2 separate regions of the Homo sapiens genome follow, and region 1 is linked to region 2. The links are contacts of gene promoters, found by promoter capture Hi-C in human tissues and cell types (Jung and others, 2019). All regions are on one chromosome and are shown on one strand. Each heading gives the region's core, a stretch centred on a gene start or on the middle of the fragment in contact. The rest is flanking DNA. Distances are from core to core; before and after follow the strand shown. Region 1 overlaps SMC1B (structural maintenance of chromosomes 1B). Region 2 holds the start of ATXN10 (ataxin 10).

The links. The method cuts DNA at HindIII sites, captures the fragments that hold promoters and counts their contacts. A contact is called where the count stands out against the background at its distance.
Region 1: a contact is called between a fragment that was not itself captured here and the fragment with the promoter of ATXN10 in region 2, in 2 of the 25 tissues and cell types used here (IMR-90 fibroblasts and aorta).

The regions. Positions count from the first base shown.
Region 1 is chr22:45,397,386-45,403,321 of GRCh38, forward strand. It overlaps SMC1B (structural maintenance of chromosomes 1B), which reads right to left. Exons shown (of 25, transcript NM_148674.5): 5 at 4,948-5,186; 6 at 1,710-1,968. Among named protein-coding and RNA genes, the nearest start is that of SMC1B, 13 kb to the right of the region's middle. The HindIII fragment of the contact is 7,606 bases long and covers 1-5,936 here.
Region 2 is chr22:45,668,929-45,674,236 of GRCh38, forward strand. ATXN10 (ataxin 10) reads left to right here and starts at 2,906. Exons shown (of 12, transcript NM_013236.4): 1 at 2,906-3,251. The coding sequence starts at 3,136. RefSeq lists silencers at 2,579-2,768, 2,829-2,878, 3,209-3,538. The HindIII fragment of the contact is 16,564 bases long and covers 1-5,308 here.

The DNA of each region.
Region 1 (5,936 bases), core at 1,792-4,291, 270 kb before region 2:
ATGCGCCTGTAGACGGGAGGATCAATTGAGCCCAGGAGTGACACTGCAGTGAACTATGATTGATAGCAGCAGGAGACAGACAAATCCTAGACAGACAGGGGTGGGTCCCCAGTGAAACCTGACCTTCAAGCCAAAGACAGTTTAAAGCCTAGCTACAAGTGCTGGGTAAATCCACAGACAAGACTGAGAAACTCTCTTGCTGTTTGGTGTGCTTACCTCTGATTGATCCCTACCCTTCACCTATTTTACATACACCTACCCTTCCCTAATTGGTTTTTCACATTGTTGTACCCACTTTAGGGTGGTGCCGTTGTTTTAGCCTTTTTTTGCATACTCACAAACCAATCAGCACACATTCCTCCATTCTGAGTCCATAAAAGCCCCAGACCCAGCTACACTGGGGGAGAAACCACCTGACTTCAGGTAGTGGATGACCTCTTGCATCCCCTCTCTGCTGAGAGCTGTTTCATAGCTCAATAAAATTCTTCTTTGCCTTCCTCACTCTTCGATTGCCAGTGTAGCTTCATTCTTCTTAGACACAGGACAAGAACTGAGGACCCACTGAACGTGGGTACACAGAAGGCTGAAACACTGTGGCCCTCTGCCCTCTGCTGGCAGAGGGCAGCTGCCCCACATGACAGGAAGCAGTGGTGGGGCCGAGCAAGCCCCAGAGCTGAGGGCCAGAGTGGGTCAAGAGGCTGACAGAGCTGTTAACATGCCTTCGGACGTGCATCCTTCAGGCTGCAGACAGGACTAAAGAGCTGATTAGCACACTGTAACACCCCCTCTGGGGCTTTGGGGTCAGGAGCACCCTTGCCTGGGTGCCACTGTGTTCCCCTCATCTGGGCGCCAGAGCCCACTGTGGAAGTGGCTTGCAACACACCTGGTCCAGCTCCAAGCACCACATGAAGCCTGCTTCTGTGCCGGTACTTGGAACAGCTGGCTGGAAACTAAACTTGCTCGCTCACACACCCTCTTCTGCTGGGGGCTGAGTGAGCAGTCGTGGCAGCTGTGGGATTCGCGCCAGAGTGCAGGCCAGGTGCGGCCTGGCAGGCTGACAGGGTGTCTCCTGCAGTGAACGTGGGACCAAGCAAGGCCTGAGCAAGGGCGTCACCAACTGAGGGTCTCTGGCTGACAAAGTGACTGAGAAAAATCCTGCATCGGCCGGGCATGGTGGCTCACGCCTGTAATCCCCGTACTTTGGGAGGCCAAGGCAGGTGGATCACCAGAGGTCGGGAGTTTGAGACCAGCCTGACCAACATGGAGAAACCCCGTCTCTACTAAAAATACAAAATCAGCCAGGCATGGTGGCGCATGCCTGTAATCCCAGCTACTCAGGAGGCTGAGGCAGGAGAATCGCTTGAACCCATAAGGCGGAGGTTGCAGTGAGCCAAGACCACACCATTACACTCCAACCTGGGCAATAAGAGCGAAACTCCATCTCAAAAACAAACAAAAAAAAATCCTGCATCATGATTATGCCACTGCACTCCAGCCTGAGTGACAGAGCGAGACCCTCTCTCTACAAAATTAAAATTAAAAATAAATAAATCTAGTTCTGTATACAGGCTGAAAAATTTAAATCCCCACAATTTACATTGAGGATAATCTCTTAAAATATCAGAGAGGTCATCTTTTAAATTTTTTTCTAATTCAAAGCAGCTGAAATAATAGAAACACAAGATTTCCCCTAAGTTGTCCTTTTTTACCTGACTGGCTTCCAGTTCAATGTCTCGCTTTTTATGTAAAATTTCTTCCTCAATCTGCTTTTCAAAACTTCTCCATGCAGCATCTAAATCAGCCAGCTCTGTCTCCAGGGCTTTTATATCATCTTCCTGTTTAGAACATTGTTTTTCGCTGTCCTTTATTGATTTCTTAGCCACATCTAATTTCTTAAGGTGGTGAGAAGTGTTTTCTTTGGCTTTAATGTACTGAGGCCTCTTCTGATTTAAAAGGGTTTCAACCGATCTGAAAAGGGAAAAATGTTTGCTTTAAAGAAAATTTCATTTCTTTAATATATAAAGGGAAGAAGTTGTTTTGATCAAACCACTTTAAAAAAGAAATCCTAAAAATCAACTTTCAGAGACTGTAAGCAGATCAATGGTTGCCAAAGGTTGAGCAAGGTCAGGGGGAGGGATGAATAAAGCACACGGTCACTTTTGAGAGTGGTACTGTAGTGGTAGACACTTGACACTATGAATTTGCCAAAACCTGTATTACTTTACAGCACCAAGGATGAACCTTAATGTAAGCAAATTAAAAAAGAATCACTCAGGAGGCTAAGGGATCCTATATGGAATGTAGAATGCAATAAAAAATCTAACTTTATTATAAATGTAGAAACAGCCTTACTGAAGGGGTGGAAGGAAAACATGCTGACCTAATTCTAGAAATGAGTGGAGTCTGTAAGACTAAAAGCAAAAGAATTGTATATAAGTACTATACTGTAGTTACAAAGATGCTTTCCATGGGGGTACGGGTTAACAATTCTGACGCTATTACACGTGATTACTGGAAATGCACAATTAAGCAAATGGATGGCAGATGGTAGAAGCCAGATTTCCCATTGTTGAAGTGGGAGGTTACAGATAAGCAAGAGAAGGCTAGAATGATTAATGTGGTAATGGCTTAGAATTGGGAGACATCAATATGAACTCATGTTTAGCTTAATATAGATGGTCACATATGAAAATATTTATAGCTATGTGTATAAATAGTATACACAGGTATTTCCTAGTTCCAACAGCTGAGAAAGCCTAGAAGCAAGGACACTCCAGTAGCAACGAACACACCTACCACCTAGATGTTGGTTCCTAATACTGTTCTCCGATAAAAGGAACCAGGGTTCCTTGGAGAGCCTGGGGCAGGCTCATACAAGCTGGGGCAAGCTGATGCTTGGACTGGCTTATACAAGATGACAGTAGAAGATACTTATCTTCTAGAAAGTAAGGAAGAGCTCCAAAAAAAAATCACAGTAATGAGAATATTTCAAAGGGACACAGGAGCCAACTCAAAGAGTTCTCAGTGGCCACAGCAGGAACAATCTAAGCAACAAAATCAACAATGTAATACTGGATTATAACTCTAAATGTAAAATATCCATAAATCTATACTGATGTAAACAAATAACAATTAATTTAATTTTAAAATAATTAAGTAGAGACAAATCTGTGCAGAATTCCAAAAAAATCATGTAGATACTTTGCCCTCAAGGTAAAACATAACTCTCCTTACTCCTTAAGTGTGGGCTAAGCATAGTGACTTCCTCTCAAAGATTATAGTATGAAAAGGGAGAAAAAATAACCTCACAGAGGAGAAACATGACAAAAACTACTTCAGTCAGGTGATCAAGGTCAACATCAACAGTGATACCATGTTGATATGACACATGATATAGTACATGATAAATGTCATGTAACATATATAATACACTGACACTCTGATAGAATATAATGAGAAGGACATTTTACTTCTGTGGGCTTCCTCCCCACAGTCTGTATCTTCAGTCTAATTATGTGAAAACCATCAGACAAATCCGGATTGAAAGATGTTCTATAAAAAAACTGACCAATATTCCTCAAAATTGTCAAGTTCATCAAAAACAAGAACTGTCACAGCTAAAAGGTGCCTAAGGAGACATATAACTAAATGTAATATGGTATTCTGGATCATAAAAAGGACATTAGGCAAAAGCTGAGAAAATATGTATAAAGTATGGACTTTAGTTAATGTATCAATATTAGTTTATTAATTCTGACAATGTATCATAATAATGTAAGATATTAATAATAGGAGAAACTGAGTGTTGGGAATATGGGACTGATACAGGGGCTAAAAATAAATTATTTAGGCAGATAGTGAAGGTTAAGAGAGTCCTCAGCAGAGCTTCCCTTTTAACGAAAAGCAGCCCCAAAATCATTTCTTTTCTAACAAAGAGGAGCCTGAAAAATTAGGCTACAAATGGGGTACATAAGCAAGCTGGAAGCTTACACGAGTGAATGCCGGCAGCTGAGCCAATAGAAAAGGGGTACTCAGAAGCCAGCTATGTTCAACATGAAGGCTCCATCTTCCCTTTTCTTTGTCACCACGTGTACAGTAGAAAAGCTGGCAAACATGGCGCCAGCCAGGTACAGAATCTGCATAATAAAAAATTAGGGTGGGATGGCCAGCTTCTTTGTGCACTATGCAAATGGCACATCTAGTCCTAAGCGGTTCTTCACGTGCTATGCAAATGGAATACCTGATCTGAACAACCCTTCATGCCCTAAATCAGACACCGCCTCCTCAAGCTCATCTATAAAACCGCCTGTACTTCACTGTGGACCAGAAGACCCAATTGGGAGCCCCTCTCTCTGCATGAGAAAGCTTTTCTCTTTCTTTCACCTATTAAACCCACTCTTAACCTCACTCCTTGTGTGTCTGCATCCTTGATTTCCTTGCTGTGAGGCAATGAACCTCGGGTATTACCCCAAACACCACCACTTCAGGACCATTCTACACCACCTTTTTTTTTTTTGAGATGGAGTCTCACGCTGTTGCCCAGGCTGGAGTGTAGTGGCGTGATCTCGGCTCACTGCAAGCTCCACCTCCCAGGTTCATGCCATTCTCCTGCCTCAGCCTCCCGAGTAGGTGGGACTACAGGTGCCTGCCACCATGCCCAGCTAATTTTTTGTATTTTTAGTAGAGACGGGGTTTCACCGTGTTAGCCAGGATGGTCTCGATCTCCTTACCTCGTGATCCACCTGCCTCAGCCTCCCAAAGTGCTGGGATTACAGGCATGAGCCACCACACCTGGCCTATACTATCTTTATAATTTTTCTGTATATCTAAAAGTATTCCAAAGTAAAAAGCTTATTTTTAAAATCAATTTTCAAAGTGTCACTTATATTATTCCCTCTATCAAGCTACATATAACCCAACTGTTAATATCTACTTTTAAAAACTCACTTTAATTCTTTTTCTGTTTGTTGTAGTTGTCTAGTTAGCATTCCATGTTCCTTTTTCCTGGCTTTAACTATGTTTTCATGATGAGACAAAGACTCTCTTTTGACACTCAAATCCCTATTCACATGCTCTAACTTGGTGTTCAGGAGATGAATCTTTTTCTCATTATGGTATAGTTGAAAAAGCTGCAGTTGTATCTTGTTCATTTTCAGTTCTTCAAGGAGACTCTGGTAACGTTCTGCCTATAAAAGAGTATAATTCAACAGCAGTTAAAAGGGAGTGTATTTAAGTTGGCCTTTCATAAACTCAACTACTATACCAACAAATTAACTAATGAATGTTTATTTATTAGGACATAATGTTCTTGCCAAAAGTAGCATAATTTGGCGAGGGTTTCTGAATATACTTTTTAAATAACCCAATACACCAGCAAATGATTTTGTGTTCTTGCGCTCAGTGGTATGATGATGAGAACAAAGAAGTGGCATGCATTAGCCTGGGTCCCTTTTGTCTGGACCTGTGAGTTTCACAACTCAATCAGTATTTCTGGCATCAGCTTCCTCCTTTGTAAACTGAAAGAAGAGTGTGATATGACTTATAAGGTGCTAGTAACTTTAAATTCAATGACTCCAGGAAAAATTCCTACTACAGGAAGTAGTTTTTCTACCGATAAAACAGGACTCTTACAGTGCTAAATTATATGTGAAAAATAATAATTTCCTTAACATTTGTGCTATTAAAGAAATAAAGGAACAGGCTACCTCAAGAGGAGCTCCTAATCAATATTGGAAGTATTCAAAGTAACAGGCTATCCACTAGGATGTTGTAAAAAACAATTAGGAAGTTGTTTCGTTCTAACTGTCCTTAAAATGTTTAAATTTTGCAGTTCAGTATATTGTGATTATTATAGTCTGACTTCCACTGCTGCCACTCCTTTCCACTAACAAAACCAAGGACATGTATACATATTAGAAAACATGAAGACACAGAGA
Region 2 (5,308 bases), core at 1,656-4,155:
GGCTGGACTGCAGTGGTGTGGTAATAGCTCACTGAGGCCTTCAACTCCTAGGCTCAATGAATCCTCCCATTTCAGCCTCTGGAGTAGCTGGGACTATTGCCATGTACCACCATGCCTAATTTTTTAAAAATTTTTTCGTAGAGATGGGGGGTCTCACACTATGTTGTGCAGGCTGGTCTCAGACTCCTGGGCTCAAGCAATCCTCCTGCCTCAGCCACCCAAAGCACTGAGACTACAGGCATGAGCCACCATGCCTGGCCTAATTACCTCTTGAAGCCACATTCTATTTGGCCTCTAGACGAACTGATGTCAACTAGCTACACAATGGCATACAATCTATAGTTCAACATTGTACAGCCAATCATTAACCAACATTATTTCTTAAACCAATGAGAATTCATGACAAACAACCTTTTAAATCACCCTCTCTCCTGATTCGTCCTTTTTTCTTTAAAAAGTTGAGCTTCTCTTTCGTTCTCCAGAGCACTCCCCAAGGCAACTTGGATGTGTGTCCTGGACTGCAATGCTCACGTTGGCCCAAATAAACTCTTTATATTGATTTTACCTCAGCTTATTCCTTTTAAATAGACAGAGGACAATAAGGAGGTCAGTATGGCTGAAGCACAATGGAAGAGGAAGAGGCTAGTAGATGTGATTAGAGCCCACAGGGGCTGGAGGTGATGGCGAAGGAGGAGGCAGGTCATTTAGGGGCTTTTCTATTGGAAGAACTTGGCTTTTACTCTGAGTGAAATGGAAATCCCTTAGAGGGTTTTGGGCAGAGTTAAATGTTGAAATATTTTTTAAACGATCTAAAACGTAAGGAAGCAAGAGCAGAGGCCAAAAGACCAATCAGGAATATATTACAATATTCCAGGCAAGAAGTATGAATATTATAGGGAATGTTTTTCTGGGAATGTTACATTTGAGAATAAGAAAACTAAAGGCCAGGTTTTTTTGTTTGTTTGTTTGAGACAGAGTCTCCCTCTGTTGCCCAGGCTGGAATGCAGTGGTATGATCTCAGCTCAGTGCAACGTGTGCCTTCCAGGTTCAAGCAATTCCCTTGTCTCAGCCTCCCAAATGGCTGGGACTACAGGCACCCGCCACCATGCCTGGCTAATTTTTAGTAGAAAGGGGGTTTTGCCATGTTGGCCAGACTGATCTTGAACTCCTGACCTCAAGTGATCTGCCCGCCTCGGCCTCCCAAAGTGCTGGGATTACAGGCATGAGCCACCGTGTCTGGCCTAAAGATCAGGATTTTGGTGCATAACAAGTACATTTTACTATCCTGTGCTCCTCAAGGGAAAATTAAGAGATTTTTGCCCTGTTAGCTTAAGGAGTGTTAAACATTTTGCATTGTCTTGAGCACTGCTACTAATAAGTGATCTAATACCTGGCACATAGTACACCGCAATATTCGTGGAATGAATAAATACATACTCAATTAAATGGGTAAACTGAATGACAATATCAAGTAACTTGCTTGTGCAGCAGCATTCATTTCCCTCCCTCCTTTTTTTTTTTTTTTTTTTTTTTTTTTGATACAGGGTATCATTCTGCCACCCAGGCTGGAGTGCAGTGGTGTGATCACAGCTCACTGCAGCCTCGACCTCCTGGGCTCAAGTAATCCTCCTGCCTTGGCCACCCAAAGTGCTGGGATTACAGGCATGAGCCACCATGCCCCACCAGGATTCACTTTTTCTGCATACTCTGGTGGTGTTTATTGTTATCTTTACATTTTATTTAGCAAAGAATGTTAAAAGCGCCATGTTATAAGCACACTCCTACCCTCCAAGCAGAATGTAAAGGGTATGTATTTATATATTTTAAGTGGTCCCACAGCAATTTGTACAGTTATAGCAGTTCACAACTATACTCAGTTATGTTTGCTTCTCTCCTTCTCAATAGTCTGTGAGGTTCCTTCAGGTTTGGAACTGTCTTTTATTAATCTTTACATCTCCAGCACCTAGCGCAGGGCTTAGCAACAATTTTTGTTGAAAGTATATACACTGTAATAAAGGGCAGTGGAAAGAAAATATGTGAGTTATCAACACCAGCTAGAGAAGCCTTGTCTGATTCCTGTGAAATATATTCATTTCCCTTAGGAAAAAAAACAATTCTAACCCTATTGCTGTGTAACTTAGCTTCTTGACTTCGAACGGTATTTTAAGGCTTTGAGGAGCTGGAGCAATGTATACTCACTAGAGGCAAAGTGCCTGGTAAGTGGTCTGGTATTGATCAGCAATGATCAGTAAGTACTGGGAAGTGCGTTTTCAGGGCCTGAGACTTGCAAGCTAGTGACAGACCGCTCCAGCTTCCAGTGGACCCGGGCGGGGGCACTGATCAACCCACTTGAGCAGTGGGATCAAGGTCTTCAGCCTTAGCAGTGGGAGCCTCTGCCCGGCCCCCTTCGTTCCCGAGACCCTCAGTCAGCGTCTCCTCCCAAGAGGGTCCCCTCCACCCAGAATGTCCTCCCCTGGGGGAGACCACTCTGTCTGCGGGCCCCCTCCCACAGGAGGGCCCCTCTTCCTCAAGGTGAACCTCTGTCCCCGATACCCGCTCCCAAGACCGAGACCTTGTTACGGCCCCACCCTCCACAGGCCCCTTACCCCCCGGATCCCCTCCCCTGGGGGAGACCCCTCTGTCCGCGGGCACCCTCCTATAGGACGCGCCCCTCTTTCTCAGGGTGAACCTCTGGTTCCCGATACCCGCTCCCAAGACCGAGACCCTGTTACGGCCACATCAACACAGGTCCCCCTCCCCCCGGCGTCCCCTCCCCTCGGAGGAGCCCCGTCTGCGACGCTTCCCAGTCAATCACCCCCAGCATCCCTCCCCGCTCTCACCCAGAACTTCCGCCGCGCCCCCTCCCCTCAGGCGGGACTTCCGCCGGCGCCCCCTCCCCCGCGGCGCCGTCTCCTCCTCCCGCCTGAGGCGAGTCTGGGCTCAGCCTAGAGCTCTCCGGCGGCGGCGCAGCTTCAGGGCAGCGCGGGCTGCAGCGGCGGCGGCGGTTAGGGCTGTGTAGGGCGAGGCCTCCCCCTTCCTCCTCGCCATCCTACTCCTCCCTCCTCGTCATCCTCCCCCTTCGTCCTCCTCGCCTTCCTCCTCCTCGTCAGGCTCGACCCAGCTGTGAGCGGCAAGATGGCGGCGCCCAGGCCGCCGCCTGCCAGGCTGTCGGGCGTCATGGTGCCGGCGCCCATCCAAGACCTGGAGGCCCTGCGCGCGCTCACGGCGCTCTTCAAAGAGCAGCGGAACCGGTAACGGGTCCGGCCGGGGGGCTGCCCCGGGCAGGGGAGGGCGGCCGGGACTCCCGCGGCGGCCCCGGCCTGGACCCAGGCGCCGCCCCCGCCTCGCTGGAGACGCGGAGGGCGAGGCCTGCGCGGGCTGCCTGAGCGCCACCCAGGCCTCCCGACTCCCAGGCACCGCCTCGTGCTCGTGGGTCCCCGCGGGGCCTGGGGCGGGCGCCCCGCTCCCCCACCGCAGCCAGTCCGGGTGCGAAGCCGCGATCCCGGGAGCCCTTGCCGCGGCGTGCCGGTGATGTTGACCCAACACACGGTTAGGCCTCCCCTGTCATGTGCGAGGGCTGCGCCAGGCCCTGGCTGCAAGACCCACGCGGCCCCCAGAGTCATAAAGCGTGTGTTTTAGCGGGAGAGACCCGTGTTACGGACGCGGGAATTGGGCAGTTGCGGGGATGGCAGTCTCTAGGCATGGAGTGGGACTGGCACTCCTTTCTCCTCGGCGTTAGAGCCCAGGCTGCACCATCTGCCCTGGGGGCAGCGCTCTGTGCAGTGTGGAAGAGCACGGGCCTGGAGAGACCAGTCCAGTCCTGATGCCACTGAGGGGCAAGATAGCCAGGCAAAAAGAGAAGGTGCCCAGGAGTCGACAGTTGTGGATTTGGTTCCTGGCCTTGCAAGCTGCGTGTTACTGTGCAGTTTCTCCAGGCCTTAGAATTCTTGTCTAAAAATGGGACTATAATACACAGCTTAGTTGCTGGATTGTACAGAGGAATAAATGAAATAAAGTACGTGAAAATATAAAATGTGCGAAGCCCTCAGTCAATGCTTGTTTGATCTTGTTCTGTCCTCTGGGCCTCAGTTTTCTTGTCTATTTAATGGGAGTAAAGTTGAACAGTACCTCCCTGGTGATAGTGTCATAAGGAGTAAATGAGATATAATGCATATTAAATCCTTAGGACATACCTGTACATAGCACTAAATGTAGCTGATATTATCACTTAACACATTGATTGGTAGTTACCCATGTATCAGCTATTGTGCTAGGTGATGGGGTAGGAAAATGGAAAGTCCTTGCTCTCTCCTGTACTAGTATGTACAAGATAACACAGCTGTGGGGGTATGTATGTACAAAGCAGAGGGAACATTGAAGAAAGAAATACTGAGACTTGGGTCAGCCTAGGTGATCACTAGAGGACTTCCTCTCTTTAAACTAGACACCTGGTCTGAGCACTTCCTTTACCTCACATCACTTTGGGAAATGTGGAGCTGCTGAAGGAATGCTATTAATAAAAGTCCCTGGTACTGCTCTATGGGCCTTTGGGGGAGATGTATTTATTGATTTAATGCTTAGGCATTTCTGTATCATGATGGACCCTCCTTTTAGTTAATAACCCAGTCATCAACCATTTATTGAGCACCTACTATGAAACAGATTTTTTTGTTGGGGTCTGAGGGTACAGAGAGGAATGATGTGAGTGATCCCTTTTATCAGGCATATTTGGGAAATAGCTAAATAAACACATTGTAATGGAAATCTATACAAGAGGTGGTGGCACAGGGGAGCATGTGGATATGTTGGAAGATTGGCGAGCCAGGAGAGGCTTTTTAAGGTTATTTCAGGTGCTCGGTTATAGATGAGAGGACTAGAGGGAACAGTGTCTGCAAAGGGGCCATATGTTAATTTTGCAAAACCGATGAGACAATTAAGTAACATAGATAAGGTTTCTCGTACAGAAGAGACATTTAGTCAGACATCAGTTCCCTTTTTATAACTTGGAGAAAATCCAAGCCCCTGAGCCAGTTTAGAAGGCCCTTCTTGACTCTATCTCTTGTGAGGGAAGAAGTTACAGAGAACCATTGATGGTTTTTGTCAAGGGAGTGGCGCGATAAGATCTGCCTGTTAGATCTTCCTGGCCGCCTCCGCCTCCATTGTGGGGAATAAATGAGAGGACGAAGCTAGAGACAGGGGGGACCTTTAAGGAGTGGTAGCGGAAGCCCATGTGAAAGAGAAAAGTGCCTAAATTAGGACATTGTGGGGATGAGTAGAATAAATACTGAGAGATACAAGGTTGAATGGA